Regions from separate parts of the Homo sapiens genome. Here region 1 is linked to region 2. Evidence: promoter capture Hi-C in 16 types of primary human blood cells and fetal thymus (Javierre and others, 2016). All regions are on one chromosome and are shown on one strand. The core of a region is centred on a gene start or on the middle of the fragment in contact, and the rest is flanking DNA. Distances in the headings are between cores, read along the strand shown.

Region 1 (3,238 bases), core at 461-2,960, 170 kb after region 2:
CAAACTATGCATCTGACAAAGGACAAATATCCAGAATCTATAAGGAACTCAAACAGATCAGCAAGAAAAAAGCAAATAATCCCATCAAAAACTGAGCTAAGAACATGAATGGACAGTTCTCAAAAGAAGATATATAAATGGCCAACAAACATATAAAAATGCTCAATATCACTAATTATCAGGAAAATGCAAATCAAAACCACAATGAGATACCACGTTACTCCTAAAAGAATGACCATGATAAAAAAAAAAAATAGATGTTGGCATAGATCTGGTGAAAAACGTACATTTTTACAATGTTGGTGGGAATGTAAACTAGTACAACCACTATGGTAAACTGTCTGAAGATTCCTTAAAAAATTAAAAGTAGAACTACCTTTTGATCCAGTGATCCCACTACTAGGTATCTACCCAGAGGAAAAGACGTCATTATATGAAAAAGACACTTGCACATGTATGTTTATAGCAGCACAATTCACAATTGCAAAAATATGGAACCAGACCAAATTCCCATCAATCAATGAGTGGATAAAGGAAATGTGATTTATATACCCATGGAATACTACTCAGCCATTAAAAGGAAGGAAACAATGGCATTTGCAGCAACCTGGATGCTATGAGGAGGTAAAGTCATAAGAATTATACAATGGACTCTGGGAACTTGGCGGGGAAGGGTGGGGTAAAGTATAAAAGACTACATACTGGGTATAGGGTACACTGCTCGAGTGATGGGTGCGTCAAAATCTCGGAAATCACTGTTAAAGAACTTATGCATGTAACCAAACACCACCTGTTCCCCTAAAACCTACTGAAATAAAAAAGAAGAAATCTATAATGAAAAAATTATTTTTATATTAAATTACTCTTATACAATAGAAAGGTTTTTGAAAATCCTTTAAAAAATGTATTTAGCAATATATTGTGCCCTGCTTACTGAAGTTCTCTCAAAAAAGAAATATAAAAGTTCAAATAATGTAAACAAGTAATAAATAACCTTGCAAAATTATTATTTTTAGCTACATGCTAAAAATGTTGACCAGTAAACAGGGAACTCTGCAAAATTCACACCCTCTGTCTTTGCTGTGACACTCACATGAGACTACATAAGAAAAAGAAAAAAAATATTAAAAACAAATAAGTAATTAAAAATAGGCCATGTTCAGTTTGATTTAATATAGATCAGAGAAAAAGAAACTTTGATTTTTTTCCCTTTTTACTCCATAGATATTTATATTTTTAAAAAATGGTAGTCAGTCAAATTGGGTTGACTTGATATAAAGCCAGAAACTGGAAATGTTAGCCTTCCACAGGGTAATAGGAAGGAAATGAGTTCAAAATCTACATTTTCAATTAATAGCTCTAGCAATTATTAATGAATCATGCTTTTTAAACCATCTGCACACAAGTAGGCACCAAAAAGAAATAATCCACAGAATGTGATGAATAAGACTAATCCATCTTCTTACCTAGCATAGTAATTCTCTGAAATATTTTTGCTGACATGCCAAACAATAAAAATTCATTTAAATCATTTTTTTTGTAAGTCACTGTTGTATAGTCCTAGAGATAAAATTTGTGCACTAGTATAATGACCTACATTCTAATATCTTCAAATCTTGGCTCCAAGCTTCTGGGTTTCTTCAAAATGCAATTAAAATTGAAACAAACTTGTGGGAATAAGCCCTTTTGCTTTTCAGTTTCTGCAAAAGACTGTGGTATGAACAGTCTAATATTCAAGGTGCATTCATTTTACAACTTACAATAGCTAAATGCAATTAACTCTAGTAAGCTTGGTGAAGTGTTCTCCCACGAGAAACAAATCTCATCCTACAGATCAAGGGATGTAAAATGAACACCAACACTACACAGAAATGTGCTGATTCGATTTTTAAAAAGTTTAATGGCATTTTATTACAATACTAATGCTTACTTCTTTTATTGCCTTTAAATATTTAACTGTCTCCCATCATCATCTTTCCAAGTTCATTGAGCTTGGCCTCAGCACAGGTGGCCCACTCTGTTAGCTCCCAGTTGAATAACTAATGAATAAAGACCATAGGAACAATGATCTGATGAGTATGTTGAGTTGCTGAATAACCAAAGTGCAATCAGGAGCCAGTCTCAGCCTCTCTAAGTGCCTATTTCACTCCTGATTCTTTCTGAGCTATTACATAAGGAAGAAATGTGCATTTAGAACACAGTGTTCAGAGCAATCCAGGCCAGGCCACTGTCTTCAAAAACTGCACATCATATCTCTCTGTCTGCTGGCCTATCAATCATTATGTTATCTATCTATCCATCTAACATAGCTACCATCAGGGTTTCAATATTTCACACAATTTCCTAGAATGCCTATTATATGTCAGGCATTAGAGATACTGAGGTAAATAAAATAGTCTCTGCCATACATGACCACTGTGTAATGTGGAAAATCCATGTTAAAAAAAAGCTATGATACAATACGATGTAGTATGTATTCAGAAGGTGTAAATATAAATAGTCTTTATTGTCTAGAAAGTATCTTTCTTCTCATCCTAAAAAAAAAAAATCATCTATGAAGTCATCTTTATAAAATAAAAAAGAAAAGTTCTCTCATCTAATGACCCATTCGCCTCTCAGCAAGATTTTAATCACTAAACTAAATACATTTATATTCATGGCTTTATTAATTCTGCTCTTGGTTGTTTCATTCTATGTGTATTTGAATTATCTAGGTTTTTTAAAAATTATCTAGGTTTTTTGTTTTATTTGGTAGTCTCTTACTACGTATATGTAAAGTATAATATGACAGTTAAGAACTGAGTCTTGAAGCCATATTATCTGGTTTGAATACCAGCTTGACCACTTACTACTTCTGTTATTTTGGGAAAGTTATGGAGCCTTTCTCTGACTCCATGCTCATCTGAAAGTTTGAATAATAATAATTCCTAGCTCATGAGGGTGGGTATTAATCATGTTTTTAAATAGGGTGGGTATTAATCATGTTTTTAAATTTTTCTGTACTTGATGATGCTTTGATATCCTCAGCCTTGTATACCTGAGAAGGGACTGCCTCTCCCAGACTTGGCTAATTCTTAGGGATGGCAAACAACCTGCCTGTGAGTACATCCTTGATGTGCAAACCAACTAATCTGAGTCCATACCCCCACCCACTTCCTTTTATCAGGCTCCTGCAGTCCTGGACACTCTTCCCTTGCCCTAAGTCACCTAGGGCCAGGTACCAAACAACTAGGGACTA
Region 2 (3,309 bases), core at 774-3,273:
TCTGGGGCTACTAAAAGCTAAGAGAAGCAAGAAAGTATCCTTCCCCTGCAGGTTTCAGAGGAAGCATGATCATGCTGACAACTTGATTCTGGCCTCTGAGTAGCCAGAATTGTGAAAAAAATGATTTCTGTGTCTAAGCCCCTCAGGATGGCAGTTTGTTACAGCAGCCCTAGTAAACTGATACATTAGACATAAGACAAAAAGATTTCAAGGGAAAACAAGTGGCTCCAGCTTACCTTTGGTACAGAAAGAAGAGACCCAAGCAAAAACTCTTTTGAGTCTGTGAAGGAAGTTATGAAGAAGGAAAGGAGTCTCTGATAAGGGCTCCTTACATAGTTTGCCAATCTAGGATTAGCTAAAAAGATGAAAAGATGAGAAGTTTCCATCTATTTACACTATTCTAGTGTGGCAGAGATTGTGCCTCGCTTGCCTGAAGCCTGCAGAGTGCATTACATCCCATGGTTTACAAACAGCAGAACAGAGATGGCTGTGTGAGGCGCCTGGGGCAGGGAGGAAGGCTTAAGTCAGCCAATTACAGCCAAGAGTGACCCTGGGAACATGCTGCTTTTTCTTCTCTCCTCCTAAAGGACAGGAACAAAAGTTTCCTTAGAGGAAGAAGTGACAAAGAGGGGATGCTGCCATGCAAAGCTGGAGGGATGCTATTCCCGGGGCCCAGTGGGCCTGTGGGTACGTTAGTAGATATGAGGGATAATGATGGTCATGGATCATGCAGGACTCCTGGCCTCAGTGGATGCCCATGTGGAGAAAGGGGGAACGGGATCATACTCTGCTTTCTCTATATATGTACACAATCCTGAACTTAGATCAGTCTCCATGAGAAGGAGAGATAGAAGAGGAAAATCATGTATTGGTTGAATGCAAACCCAAAATCATTGGGAAAAGCCTCAAGTAATTTAGTTTACCTGGAACTGACTAGATTTATTTTTCTGCCATTAGACAAAATGGGGGCCACAATTGAAAACGAAGTATGTAATTAACAGTTCTTGAACACATGGCTGGGAAATATGGTATCAGCTATATTTGTTTTTCTTCTTTGTATGAGCTCCTTTATGGCAGGCACTGTGTGTTTCTCTCTGTGTCTTTTCAAGTCTAATATAATACTTGACATCATTTTTGTCCATCCATACAGTTGGTTTGTCAATATGAATGTATTTATTTAATTGATGATAAACTGTAATAAAATCATAGTTGTTTGCTCTAAAGTAGATATGAAAGGTCAGATGAAACAATAACATACATCTGGATTGAGAAATATCTTAATAACTGATGGATTATTTTTATTTTCTTTATGTATTGTGTGCTTCAATATCCTAATAAATAATATTAGCTAGGTTCACTGATGTATAGAATCTTTTTCTACATTTAGATATTTCTTGCAAATGTTTTACCAGAAAGCAACACAAAAATACTATCAGTGAGTATGTGTTTACACTGTTCTCTAAGGAGTCAAATTCCTCACCTTGAAAATAATTCATCCCAGGAAGAGAAAAGGTTTTCAAAAGACTAGAGCAGGCCACAAGGGAGCTTTCGCAAAACTCTACACGTAAAGGGTAATGTAAACTTAAAACCTATTTTTCAAACAGTAATTTATATATCTTTTAATTTTAGTAGTTTATGTGTGAAACAATCATGCAAAACAACAAAGTGATAAAATTTTTTAAAAAAATTAGTGAGATGCAAATAACTGAATATGTAAAAGGTCTCATACATATTTATATGTAGTAGATAAGTTACATTTTTTTAGTGTGTTGGGAAATTTTAGCTCACATCACCTCTCTACTGTCATCTTGGGGCACTTTCATGACTACCCATGCTTCATGCAGGTTTACTTTCCTCCCTGTGACAGAGGATAATGGGAATGTTTTTTCTTTGGCTCAATTTTGTGTGTGTCCGCCAGTAGATGGCGGTACCACTTTGAGTGCGATCGGCCTTTTTTTCTTTCTTTTTTTTTTTCCTCAAAGCTGTTTTCTGATATATGTTGGGTACCATAGAGTGAATCTCAGAACAGGAAGCGGAGGCATAAGCAGAGAGGATTCTGGAAAGGTCTCTTTGTTTTCTTATCCACAGAGAAAGAAAGAAAAAAAATTGTAACTAATTTGTAAACCTCTGTGGTCAAAAAAAAAAAAAAAAAAAAAAGCTGAACAGCTGCAGAGGAAGACACGTTATACCCTAACCATCTTGGATGCTGGGCTTTGTTATGCTGTAATTCATAAGGCTCTGTTTTATCAGGTAAGCTGACAAAACATTTCATTATCTGCACCATAGAACCTAGCTACCAGGTCATTTTCCTTACTTTAAAATCATCTTCATGCTGCTATTTTTAACCCAGTGTTGTTTAAATGTAAATTACAGGAACCAAAGGCATCGTTTGATGTGTAAACTGCTTACTATTTCTTTATCTTTCAAAGAAAATAGAGCCTGTCTGGAAATGGTGATTTATGGTACATACTAGGCATCAATGGTCTTGTGTTTTTGTAGATGCTTATGATTAATTGTATTCAGAAAAAATATTTTTTATTATACTTAAAGCTAGTCTAATGAGTTTCCTGGCTGTATGTCATCTATTTAAATGCCCAGTGTGTCCAGTATTTTTTAAACATAAATGTATAGTGAAATTGGAACTATCATTCTTGTGCTTTAGTTTTTTATTTAACAGCTTTAGAGAGGCCATGCATATAGGGAGTGATAACAATATAGAGGTGTTTGGCTTTGTGAAATACACTATCATTTTTCTCTAAAATCTGTTTTCATAGAGAAAAGAACACCAATACTAACCATTTAAAAGAGGTTGAACCTTCAAAAAATAAAATAATCTCTATATGTTCCATAATATGCTACTTCTTTATCCTTTAATATATTCATTTTATATTAAATGTTTACCTTTTAATTTATTGATTTAAAGATTATTATATATTCTTAATTGTTCTATAAGCTTGATAGATTGCTGTTTTTCTGTATATATTTAATAACTGTTTATTTTTATTAATTACCAGGAAGAACCACTGGAGCCATAAAACAATAATTTACTTTATCTATGATCCATATTGTCTGTAGTTGTATTTAGAATATTCTATATCATAACCATAAATGTTTCATTCAGTTAGCCACCACATAATTAGAATAAGAAATTATTGACAGAAAATCTATACATATTAATTGAAAGATAAGTTTTAAAAATCATACAGGGTTTTAAAATACACAACAGGTAGTATAATGTGGCTTATGAGGACAAAGATAAAGGCATAAGTGCTTGTAGGAATTTGCATGGAAACATTTCATCACATTCAC

What was found. The method cuts DNA at HindIII sites, captures the fragments that hold promoters and counts their contacts. A CHiCAGO score of 5 or more calls a contact.
Region 1: a fragment that was not itself captured here is called in contact with the fragment with the promoter of SCN3A in region 2 in 2 of 17 cell types (total B cells and erythroblasts); the score reaches 6.9 in total B cells.

What each region holds. Positions count from the first base shown.
Region 1 is chr2:165,034,902-165,038,139 of GRCh38, reverse strand. No RefSeq gene overlaps it. Among named protein-coding and RNA genes, the nearest start is that of SLC38A11, 81 kb to the right of the region's middle. The HindIII fragment of the contact is 162 bases long and covers 1,630-1,791 here.
Region 2 is chr2:165,202,764-165,206,072 of GRCh38, reverse strand. It overlaps SCN3A (sodium voltage-gated channel alpha subunit 3), which reads left to right and starts at 2,023. Exons shown (of 28, transcript NM_006922.4): 1 at 2,023-2,250. The HindIII fragment of the contact is 4,908 bases long and covers 1-2,955 here.